Regions from separate parts of the Homo sapiens genome. Here region 1 is linked to region 2. Evidence: promoter capture Hi-C in human tissues and cell types (Jung and others, 2019). All regions are on one chromosome and are shown on one strand. Each heading gives the region's core, a stretch centred on a gene start or on the middle of the fragment in contact. The rest is flanking DNA. Distances are from core to core; before and after follow the strand shown.

Evidence for each region. Contacts are between HindIII fragments. The study calls those that stand out against the background at their distance.
Region 1: a contact is called between a fragment that was not itself captured here and the fragment with the promoter of BAG4 in region 2, in 1 of the 25 tissues and cell types used here (hippocampus).

The regions. Positions count from the first base shown.
Region 1 is chr8:38,374,922-38,380,871 of GRCh38, forward strand. The region is part of intron 1 of NSD3 (nuclear receptor binding SET domain protein 3); the gene reads right to left. Among named protein-coding and RNA genes, the nearest start is that of NSD3, 4.4 kb to the right of the region's middle. RefSeq lists enhancers at 3,091-3,592, 5,873-5,950. The HindIII fragment of the contact is 6,266 bases long and covers 1-4,571 here.
Region 2 is chr8:38,172,825-38,179,246 of GRCh38, forward strand. It overlaps BAG4 (BAG cochaperone 4), which reads left to right and starts at 4,031. Exons shown (of 5, transcript NM_004874.4): 1 at 4,031-4,315. The coding sequence starts at 4,046. LSM1 (LSM1 homolog, mRNA degradation associated) reads right to left here and starts at 3,669. Exons shown (of 4, transcript NM_014462.3): 1 at 3,451-3,669. The coding sequence starts at 3,496. RefSeq lists enhancers at 2,637-3,494, 3,074-3,163, 3,495-4,352, 3,574-3,723, 4,634-4,973. The HindIII fragment of the contact is 1,071 bases long and covers 3,848-4,918 here.

The DNA of each region.
Region 1 (5,950 bases), core at 189-2,688, 200 kb after region 2:
CGAACACGGGAGGCGGAGCTTGCAGTGAGCCGAGATCGCGCCCCTGCACTCCAGCCTGGGCAACAGAGGGAGACTCTGTCTCGAAAAAAAAATTTAAAAATAAATAAATAAATAATAATTCTTGTGCTTTCTAACTTCACATTTTTAAAAAGCCAAGTTATTCTGTGGGAATTCTACCAAACACCTCAGAAGATGCCACATAAATGTAAGGTATTATTCATGTTTTATCTTTCCATGCTACACATGGCTAAAACTGAAACAGTATGAATATTAACAATTTTCATTTTCCTAGTCACTTGCTCTAAGTAGCCCTAAATGTAGATGGAAAAAAGAACCTAGTAATTAAATATTAGAAGGGGGAAAAGTTATCACTGTAGATCAGTTAATGACGATAAAGATCCACATCTAAAAAAACAAGCTAAGAATACTTTTTCAAAGAGCTTTTTCAAATTCAAAATCTTATCAAAAAAGTTGTGCTTTAGGAGTAACAACACATCCATGTGGTAAAAACTGAACATTCTCTAAGTCCACAAAATTTAAAATATACCTTTACCTTCTTTTCATGCTACACAGTGCAGGTACAACATACTACAGAAGTGTTTAAAGTCTTTATTACATATTTACTAACAGCAACAGTAAAAATGAAAACAAAACTGTAAGCTTTTTAAAAAAAGGTTAGATAATGTTAGTATAAGCAATTTCTTACATTTGTCCTTGTTAATATAACAATATAAGTATAATTATTTATAACTTATAAATATAATTCATAAAAAGATTGGCCTGCAGAAATAAAGTTCACCATTCATTTAAAAACTCAAATGCTGGACATGTTTATTAACAAATAAATGAATCATCTTAGTTGCTTTTTCAAAAAATAATAGACTGCTTTTAAAAAAAAAGTAAAACTAAAAACAGAATTGCATTGAAAAACAGATTTTATGGACAGATGCCAAGTTCTAAGCATTTTTAAAGTTTTAACAATTTTAATTTCTGAAGTATCTACAACAGACAAGACTATCTTTTTGTTTTAAAAGATCCCAATGAATAAGTAACCCATTTTCTTCTTGATAGAAAAAAAAAATTAAATAAAGTAAGCAACAGTCCATGCTAAGATTTTTAACTTGTTTTCAAATAGGGATTTTTAGCTCACTTTAAAATTTTTACCAATGTCTCTATTTTTTTTCCAGGTCCTTTTCTAAGACCATGATGGACCTCTAATTTTTTTCGTTTCATCGCTATCTTATTTTATTGATAATTTTATTCAAACAAGAAAAAGTCCACTAAAATCCACTTCATACAAAAACACACACCTCAAGATAACTTGGACACAATTCATTTTTGCATGTAAAAATATTTTATGCATATATGTTCACAACATGGTGAATAAAATATGAAAAAATACAAGATCTCTTGCCTCACTGCAGCTTACTCCCCTTTAACTCTTTCTACTAAATATACTTAACCTTAAGTTTGCCCCCTCACCTTGAGTTTTCATAGGCAGCTCTAATTCTTTCTTTCTTTTTTTTTTTTTGAGACAAAGTTTTGCTTTTATTGCCCAGGCTGGAGTGCAATGGCGCGACCTCAGCTCACTGCAACCTCTGCCTCCTGGGTTCAAGCGATTCTCCTGCTTCAGCCTCAAGAGTAGCTGGGATTACAGGCGCACACCACCGGGCCCGGCTAATTTTTTGTATTTTTAGTAGAGACGGGGTTTCACCATGTTGGCCAGGTTGGTCTTGAACTCCTGACCTCAGGTGATCCACCCGCCTTGGCCCCGCAAAGTGCTGGGGTTACAGGCGTGAGCCACTGCGCCCGGCCAGGCAGCTCCAATACTTTAAGGAAGTAATAGGTTGTGCTGTAAAGAACCAAGTAACGGGTTTGTCAAAAAAGCCCCAGACTTCACTTCCATAGGCCTCAGTTTTCTCTCTTCTAAAATAAAGTAGTTGTACTATCTCTCTTCCATTTAACAGGCTATTAGGAACTTAATTCAGGACCAACTATTATTTACTTATAATAGCAAAACCTGCTAACAAACTAAATGTTAATCGATGTTTTAAACAATGAAATACTTACAAGACTCTTTAAAAAAAAAAGCTGTGGATCCATATGTACTAATTTTTATTGTTTTTGTTCTTTGTTTTGTTTTGTTTTTGAGACGGAGTCTCGCTTTGCCTACCAGACTGGAGCGCAGTGGTACAATCTCAGCTCAGTGCAACCTCCGCCTCCTGGGTTCAAGCGATTGGCCTGTCTCAGCCTCCGGAGTAGCCGGGATTACAGGCACGCACCACCATGCCCGGCTAATTTTTGTATTTTTAGTAGAGACGGGAGTTTCACCATGCTGGCCAGACTGGTCTCAAACTCCTGACCTCAAGTGATCCTCCTGCCTCAGCCTCCCAAAGTGCGGGAATTACAGACGTGAGCCACCATGCCTGGCCTTGTTTTGTTTTTGAGACGGAATCTCGCTCTGTCATTCAGGCTAGAGTGCGGTGGCGCAATCTCAGCTTACTGCGGCTTTCCCCCTCGGGGTTCAGGCAGTTCTCCCATCTCAGCCTTCCGAGTAGCTGCGATTACAGGCGCCGCCACCACACCTGGCTAATTTTTGTATTTTTAGTAGAGATGGGTGTTTCGTCATGTTGGCCAGACTGGTCTCAAACGCCTGACCTCAAGCAATCCGCCCGCCTCAGCCTCCCTCCCAAAGCGCTGGGATTACAGGCGTGAGCCACTGCGCCCAGCCGTGGATTCATAGGTACTAATTTAAAAAGATGTCCCAGATAGGCTGTTAAAATGAAAAAGTGGCCAGGTGCGGTGGCTCACGCTTGTAATCCCAGCACTTTGGGAAACCTCGTCTCTACTAAAAATACAAAAATTAGCCGGCACGGTGGTGCATGCCTGTAATCCCAGCTACTCGGGAGACTGAGGCAGAAGAACCGCTTGAACCGGGAGGTGAAGTCTGCAGTGAGCCACGATCGCGCCACTGCACTCCAGCCTGGGCAACAACAGCAAAACTATCTCAAAAAACAAACAAAAAAACAAAAAAGCAAAATGCAGATAGTATGATCCATTTGAAAATATTTTAAGAGAAATATACACATACATGCATAGAAGTTTTCCAGAGGGACATACAAGAAACTTCAAGTGGTTATCAGTGGAGAAGAATGCTAACTTTATTTTTTTAACTTCTTAGCCTTCTGTAATATGTGAATATGTGAATAACTTTTTTTTTTTTTGAGACACTCCAACCTGGGCAACAAGAGTGAAACTCCGTGTCAAAACAAACAAACGAACAAACAAACAAACTCCATCTTGGCCGGGCGTGTTGGCTCATGCCTGTAATTCCAGCACTTTGGGAGGCCAAGGTGGGCAGATCACGAGGTCAGGAGTTTGAGACCAGCCTGGCCAACATAGTGAAACCCTGTCTCTACTAAAAAAAATACAAAAATTGGCCGGGCACGGTGGCTCACGCCTGTAATCCCAGGACTTTGGGAGGCCGAGGCGGGTGGATCACGAGGTCAGGAGATCGAGACCATCCTGGCTAACACCGTGAAACCCTGTCTCTACTAAAAAATACAAAAAATTAGCAGGGCGTGGTGGCGGGCGCCTGTAGTCCCAGCTGCTCCAGAGGCTGAGGCAGGAGAATGGTGTGAACCCGAGAGGCGGAGCTTGCAGTGAGCCAAGATCATGCCACTGCACTCCAGCCTGGGTGACAGAGCGAGACTCCGTCTCAAAACAAAAACAAAAACAAAAAAACACAAAAATTAGAAGGGCATGGTGGCGTGTGCCTGTAATCCCAGCTACTCGGGAGGCTAAGGCACGAGAATCACTTGAACCTGGGAGGTGGAGGTTGTATTGAACCGAGATCGCACCATTGCACTCCAGCCTAGACAACAGGAGTGAGACTCCATCTCTCAAAAAAAAAAAAAAAAAAAGTACTAACTTCATAAAACTGTTAGGAGGATAAAAGGAAATCATGCATGTGAGACACTCAGCATAGCACAGTGTGAGGACAACTGTGAGCAGCTATTAGTGGATTATGAATATTATTATAAATTCCAGAAACGCTGTCATTAGAATCAGATTTGACAGTTCACTCAACAATCACCAATCTCAAAGACAGTTTCCTTTATCCAAAACTCATTCAATCTGATCAGTGTAAGAGACGGCATTTGTTAATTTAAGGGTTAGGGAAAAAAAGAAAAAAAAAAGCCAACACAGGTAACAGGTGGGCTGATGGACATATTAATTGGTTATAAGTGTTATTTAACAAGAGTAGGCTTCTTCGTATATGAATACCTGTCCAAGGAACCAGGATACTTATGACAGCTGGGCAGGAACCCTGATCTTTAAAGGATGCTGCATACATAAAAATAAACTTTTTCTTTTTTTTTTTTTTAAGCAATGAAAGCTTCCAACACAAATTTTTCTATTTAATGATTGCTTATTTTCCTAAAAATTTGCAGCACTGATAGCTCATGCACACAATTTACCAGCTAATTACAAATAACATGTCAATCAAGTAGGAGATATAAAACTTAAATTGCCATAAAAATAAATTCCAGAAAAAGCATGCTGAATTTTTTTTTTAATGCAACTGTTCCTCACAGAATTTCAAACAAATTCAGGCTGAATATTATCAAATTAAAATACTACAAGCTGAGAGGGTGCTTTTAGTGTAAAAGCCAGATTTACAAAGTACCACTTTAACAACATTCAATTTCATTTTTCTAACAAACCAAGAATATATCCTAAGCTTCTGTATAACAACTGAGAGGATGTTGCCATTTAGGTAGGTTAAATGTAGTTCAACTGGTTTGAGTCCACCATATTACAATGTTAACAGGCCTTCTTGGTATTAGAGAACAGTTTCAATATCAATGTGATAGGTTAAAGTTTGGATTACTCCAACTGCTATAATAAAAACAAAAGGTCACACACACATTTAATCCAATATGAAATAAAATAGGCTCTACTTAACACCAATGTATGTTCTGTAAATTTGTCAGGATTTAAACCTTAGAATAGTAATTATTTCAAATTGTACAAGTAGTTACAGTTGAATATATTAGTTACTGTAGTTTCCTGAGAGTCAACTGAAGTTTCAATCAAAAAACGAACAAACAAAACAACAACAAAAAAACCCTGGCATCTCAATGAGACTCTAAGAACTGCATGCCTACTTCACAGATCATTGCACTGTGCTGAACTGGCATCTGGAGATTGTATTGAGCCAGCTACATGAAGGCAAAGAGAAGAGATGGGGAAAAGAGAGTTTATTTAAAAAAGAAAATACTATTCTTAACACACTCATCACTTAACACGCTCATCACCTATAAGCAAGAGCTATCAGAAATACTATTTAAAAATACATACATTTCTAATTTTTCAACATTCAAAATACAGCAAGCCGATAATCTACCACAAGCAGAGCTTCCTACCCCTTTCACCCGGACACAGCGCTTTGCCAAGAGCACAGGCCCAAGTAAAATAACCGATGCAATTTCCTTGTTTACTTAAAGAATTGCAGAAAACATGTTGACTGCTTCTGAGGCTTCCGAAACAAACGAATTTTCAATACGTAAAAGACTTCACGATCATGTTTGATATGTAAGCGTAGTAATGATTCCTTCAGCTAGTAAAAATCTAGTTTTAAATTGATTAAATGGGTTAAATTTACACTGCAGCTCATTAGCATACCTTGTTTGCAACCAGAAGGAAGAGGGTAAAGAGAGGGAGAAAAGCATCAAAAAGGTAGTGATGGAAAACATCACTACCTCCTTTGGCGGTTATGAATAATTTAAAATGACCCAAGACGTAAGGGGAAAAGAGTTCATGAATAGAAAGAAAGGGGGCTAACAGTCTGAATTGGCCCCTTCCAGATTCATACTGATGTCGGAGAGGAAAAGGAATTTATTTACACTGCAGTGCCTTGGCAGCAAACATGGCTGCCCCTGCCCCC
Region 2 (6,422 bases), core at 2,781-5,280:
CTAATAATAAGCTAGAGCAGAAATTCAATGTTTACTGAGGGGGCATGTGCTGTTCTGGGGTCTAGACATACAGTAGAGAATGAGACTTAGAAAGTCACCAACCTTATGAATTTATATTCATGTTGGAGGAGGACAAATAAATAAGAAAATAACCTATTGTGATTAGGACAATGGAATAATAAACTAGCAAGGCAGTATGATGAAGGGAGAGAAGTGGTTACAGAAGGAAGGGTGGCAAGGGAAAGCCTCTCTGAAGAGGTGACTTTGAGCTGACACTGAAGAATGAAAATAAGCCAGTTACTAGCGCACCCAGCAAAATTTCTTTCATTCCATGCCTAAAGTACTTTCTAGATGCAGAACAGAGGAAAAACACAGTGACTCTGCCCTGAAGGAATTTATACTCTTCCTTGCGCTATAAATAAGTACCACAGAAAGCAAATCTTAATTATATGAGACTACAGAGAGAGAAACTGTATTTCTGAAGGAGGTATCAGAGTTGGACCTTAAAAGGTAGATAATTTTAGGGCACAAGAAGAGTGATAGGAAGGGGGCGGGGGGGGAGAAGGAAATCTGTAAATTAAAGAGGAGGAAAAAAGGGCTATACATCCATGTTTAGCTAAAAGCTGAGGGTGTGAAGGGAAAGAACAGTAGATAAAGTCAGAAAAGTACTGGGCGCAGGCTGCATCTGGATTTGACTTCATAGGGAACAAGAAAACATTAAGTGATGGAGTCTGTTTACTGAGTTTGTATAAGTGGGTATGTGTGAGAGGGTGGGGTGCTGAAGATGTGAGGTAAAGATGTAGGAGTTTTATGAGACATCACAAAACTATTTACCAAGAGTTGGGAATAAAAGCAGCAAGCTCAGGGTGAAGGTTATTAGCTCTTTGTGATTCTAAAGTGCTATCAGGACACTTAATAGAAACACACGCAGATAGTTGGAAACAGTAAGACTGGAAAACCAAAGACATCAAGATTAGAGAAAGCAATTTTGGATAAATCTACAAAGAGGTGATATAAAAAACTAAAGTACAGGAGATCTACTAAAGATTTAAAGAAGTAGGCCACATGTAATCCAAGTGACCATCTATTTTGGAGAACAGTAAGAGCCAGAGAAGTAAGAAAATCACCAAGTACCAGTTGTTAGAGAAATCAAGAGAAGAGAATTAAAGAATCTGGTGGGGAGAGTATCACAGTGCTGCAAAGGGGAGAGAACACAGAAGAAGACCTTAGACGAATAACTTTGAAGAATGCAGCTTGAGTAATTTCAGGATAAAAATTAGATTGCAGGAGTAATGTAAGTAGTCTATTGAAGGTGATCAAGAAACAGACAAAATGAAAATGACTCGAGGTTTGGGGATAAAGATATGAAAAAAGGGATGGGCATATGAAGAGAACGGAGAAAATATTTGAGATGGATAGACAGTAACACATGAGGGGAAGAACGCAGGGGTTGGGGAGACAGAGGATATAAAAGAAAAAGGCTAACAACGAAAAAAGGTTCCAGAAGCAGTGAGAGGAGACAGTAACAACAGACAGACAAAAAGGGAGGAATCCTTCCTACTCAAATTAAAGGATGGGTGAAAATACAGAAACACAAGGAGGAAACTGTGTGTTAGGGTTGGGGAGCAAAGGGTGCATATCAAATGGCTTCAAAGTTTTCATAAAGTAGGGGGTCTGGAATCTACAAAGAGGTAGGGGTTAGAGGACCAAAGAGCAAAACTGATTTTTAGTAAAATGGCAGGATGTGTTAGAGGATATATAAGGAGAGATGAGGGCAAAAGAGCATCCTCGAGCAACTAAAACATCCTGTTACACGTAACAGGTTCATATAGATGTTAATATATATTTAGTCCAATTACACTACATTTCCCTTACATAGCACAATAAGTAATTTGTGTTTAAAAAAATGATCTGTCGGCCGGAGGCGGTGGCTCACGCCTGTAATCCCAGTACTCTGGGAGGCCGAGGTGGGTGGATCACCTGAGGTCAGGAGTTGGAGACCAGACTGCCCAGCATGGCGAAACCTCGTCTCTACCAAAAAATGCAAAAATTAGCTGGGCGTGCTGGCAGGCGCCTGTAATCCCAGTTACTTGGGAGGCTGAGGCACAAGAATTGTTTAAACCCGGGAGGTGGAGGTTCCAGTGAGTCGAGATCGCGCCACTGCACACTACAGCCTGGGCGACAGAGCAAGACTCTGTCTCAAAAAAAAAAAAAAAAAAAGAAAAGAAAAGAAAAAAGATCTGTCAACCATAAAATGATTTTTTTTTTTTTTTTGAGACGGAGTCTTGCTCTGTCGCTCAGGCTGGAGTGCAATGGTGCGATCTCGGCTCACTGCAACCTTCTCCTCCCGGGTTCAAGCGATTCTCCCGCCTCAGCCTCCCGAGTAGCTGGGATTACAGGCACCGCCATAGTGCCCAGCTAATTGTAGGAACGGGGTTTCACCATGTTGGCTAGGCTGGTCTTGAACTCCCGACCTCAGGCGATCTGCCCGCCTCGGCCCCCCAAAGTGCTGGGATTACAGGCGTGAGCCACCGCGCCAGGCCCGTAAAATGAAATTTTAACCATAGATTCTAAATTGCGTATTCACAGAGTAACTGAGACGATTGCAACTTATTTAAAACTATGTGTAAATCATCTTGAAACAAGTTAATGAGAAAGATCACATGATTAAAACAATAAAAAATGTTGCTTGAGGAATAATGCACAGACGGAATTTAGAAAAAAGGAAAGCCAGAACAACTGCAGACGGTTCTTTTCGCTTTTGTATAGGACTGAGCTCCTCTTCCGGACAAAAACCAGGAATAAGGGAGGTCTTCTTAGTAAAAGCAAAAGTAAATTGTCTTAAAAAAAAAAAAAAGGTTGCAAGTGATTTGGTCTTTCCAGAAAAGTCAATACCATGTCTAACAGTGGTCTCTACTACAATAACCTGAAGGTGCTAATGACCCTCACAGTAAAATAAGCTAGCAAATGGCCACACCGTAGAGCGCCTACATTTACTGCCAATTAAGTCCAACTGCCGCTGTCTTAATATTTTCGCTTTTTAATGAATCCTCTCTCTAGGTATTCCGATCCATCCACCGGTAACACGCTGATACTTCGAAATACTGCAGGCAGGAGTGGACGGGGGAGAAGCCCCCCCCCTCCCCGGGCTTCTTTCGTGTTCGGGCCTCTGCTGCCGCGATCCACGGAAGCAAGAATGAGTTCCATCGCTTGGGGCTCACCAGCTAGAGGGCTGGCGGAGGCTGCGAGGGGCAGAAGTAGCAGCAGGCTACTGGGTGGGCAAGCGGTGTGTACCGCAGCTGTGGAGGACATCGACGCGGAACGCCCGGATTGAGCTCAGAACACACCGGCCCCGCCCGGGACTCATTCTACAAGCTTCTTCGGAAGAGGCGCCCGCCCGGGAGGAAGGGTCTAACCCCGGGCTCCACCGGGAGGAGATAAACTACTCACTGTCAATGTCCTCGATGAGGCTGGCGGTGCCAGGCATATAGTTCATTTTGAACTGAAATAATGCTGCAATGCACAGCGGCGGGAGGCCAGCGCGTCCAAAACCTCTTCCCTCCTACCGCAGTCGCCGCCTCGGTGGGACCAAGCCCGGAATCCCGACCGAGACCAGCACTTCTGCCCCGGCTTTCAGCCGCCGGGGGCTGCCGGAAGCTCCTCCATATTACCCTTACCCACTTCCTGTAACACGTGTGGGCCCCCAGGAAGAGGCGGGGCAGCCGTACCGTTGGGGGACACCCTTTCCCTGTTCCTGTTAAGTAGGTAAGAGGAAACTCCATTGGATAAATGGCGAGGAAACGTATACTCCCTCTTAAGGAACACGGTGTCTTCCTTCGTCTCCGGGTTCCCGAGACCCCAGAGTCACTGACCTCCGTCCCTCAGCTTTCGGGGTTCGGCAGCAGAAGGGGCGGGCCCGGGCCTGGGATTGGCTGGCGTCGTCCGACCCCCTTCGCTGCTCTCCATTCGCAATCGCCCGCGGGCGCCTGCGCGATGGGTCGGCCGTGGGGAGCGGGGCGGGAAGCGCTTCAGGGCAGCGGATCCCATGTCGGCCCTGAGGCGCTCGGGCTACGGCCCCAGTGACGGTCCGTCCTACGGCCGCTACTACGGGCCTGGGGGTGGAGATGTGCCGGTACACCCACCTCCACCCTTATATCCTCTTCGCCCTGAACCTCCCCAGCCTCCCATTTCCTGGCGGGTGCGCGGGGGCGGCCCGGCGGAGACCACCTGGCTGGGAGAAGGCGGAGGAGGCGATGGCTACTATCCCTCGGGAGGCGCCTGGCCAGAGCCTGGTCGAGCCGGAGGAAGCCACCAGGTAAGCTTTGCACCCTCTGTCCTTGCGGGGAGGTGAGGGCCCTTGGGGCTGGGGTTCGTAAAGGATCGGGTTTCATACTTGTTTTCCTTATGTGGAGGAGGGTGTGTTGCGGGGGGTGTTGGAGAGACCGAGACTAAGATCAGAGGTTGGGGGGACATGCTTGTGTTCCCTTTGCCCCTCCTTTTCTGCTTCGACCCCAAAAAATATGTTTATTACCATTTAAAAAAGAAAGATCCTGCGCGGACTTACTAAGCTTAGCAGCAGGCTGCAGATCTCTCTCCTGGGAGCGGTGCTGGGTAGGGGTGGCACGGATCTACTGCTCCAGCTCTAGCAATTTATCCTGCGTGGCTGGCAGGCCGGCTCTCCCGGGGAAGGGAAGTGGCTGCAGCCCCCGATGCCGCTCAGGGACCCTCCCGAGGGGAAGGAACCTTTGCGAGGAGGAGGGATCTGGGCATTTAGCTGTTTGCCCCTAATGCCTTGCCTGAGATCGAATCATGAATAATCAGTGTTGTAAAGTACCTTTACGCGGATTGACTGATTTAATTTTCACGGCGACTGCAAGGTAAAATGGCATTACAGCGGCCCTTTTTTTTGTTTTCGAATAAGGAACCGGGGCTCTGCGAGGTTAACTCACTTGCCTAATACACTTGGACCTGCAACATTTTATTCTCCGTTTTCCTGCCGGACATATACTTCTGCTTTGTTAATACAGTCTTCTGGGTAGTGGGTTGTCGTTCTGCGGTGGCAGCATACCTCTCTGTTCGTTCAAGAATTATCCTCATTTGTTGAAAATGTAATAGTGAAATTCTCGTACATTGCTGGTGGGGATGTAAAATGGTGGAAAATAGTTTGGTAGTTCCTCAAAACATTAAGCATTAGAATTAGTCTATGACCCAGCAAGCCCACTCCTGGCTATATACCCAAGAAAACTGATAACGTATGTTCACATAAAGCTTGTCCGCCCATGTTCATAGCATCATTATTCATAATCGCCAAAAAGTAGAAATGTCGTTTTTTTTGTTTTTTTTTTTTTTGAGTTGGAGTCTCGCTCTGTTGCCCAGGCTGGAGTGCAGTGGTGCCATCTCGGCTCACTGCAACCTCCGCCTCCCGGTTTAAGCGATTCTCCTGCCTCAGCCTCTCGAGTAGCTAGGATTACAGGCGCCGGCCATCACACCCGGCTAATTTTTGTATTTTTAGTACAGACGGGGTTTCGCCATGTTGGCCAGGATGGTCTTGAACTCCTGACCTCAAGTGATCCCCCTTTCCCCTGCCCCTCGGCCTCCCGAAGTGTTGGGATTACAGGCGTGAGCCACTGCGCTCGGCCCCAAATGTCATTTTATTATTTGAGTTATAAAGTGAGTGAACCTCTTGGAGCCCTGGTTCTTTATTCGAATACAGGAATGTTGTAAGGACATAACGACTGATGCATCGATAAACAAAATATGGTGTTAATATATTCATTCAATGGAGTATTATTTGGCCTTAGAAAGGAATGAACTGCTGATGCATGCTACAATATGAATGAACCTTGAAAACATCACACTACGTGAGCTAAGTCAGTCAGAAAGACTGCATATTGTGTGATTCCATTTATATGAAATGGCCAGAGTAGGTAAATCTAGAGACAGAAAGCTTAATGGTTGCCAGAGGTTGGGGGACTGGCGGTGTAGGTGAGAATATTCTTTTTGGGATAATGAAATGTTCTAAAATCAGGGCCTGGTGAGATGGCTCACACCTGTAATCCCAGCACTTTGAGTTGCCGAGGCTGGAGGATTGCTTGAGTCCAGGAGTTCGAGACCAGCCTGGGCAACATAGTAAGACCTTGTCTCTAAAAATAAAAAAATAAAAAACAAAAAATAAGAAATGTTCTAAAATCAGTGGTGATGGTTGCACAACTCTGAATATACTAAAAACTACTGAATTGTACATTTTAAAAGGGTAGAGTTTATAGTATGTTGATTATATCACAGTGTAAACAATTGTATGAGAAAAACATGGAGCAGTGATAAATTATTTTTTATTTTTATTTTTTATTTTTGGGACACAGTCTTGCTCTGTCGCCCAGGCTGGAATGCAGTGGCGCAATCTCAGCTCACTGCAACCTCTG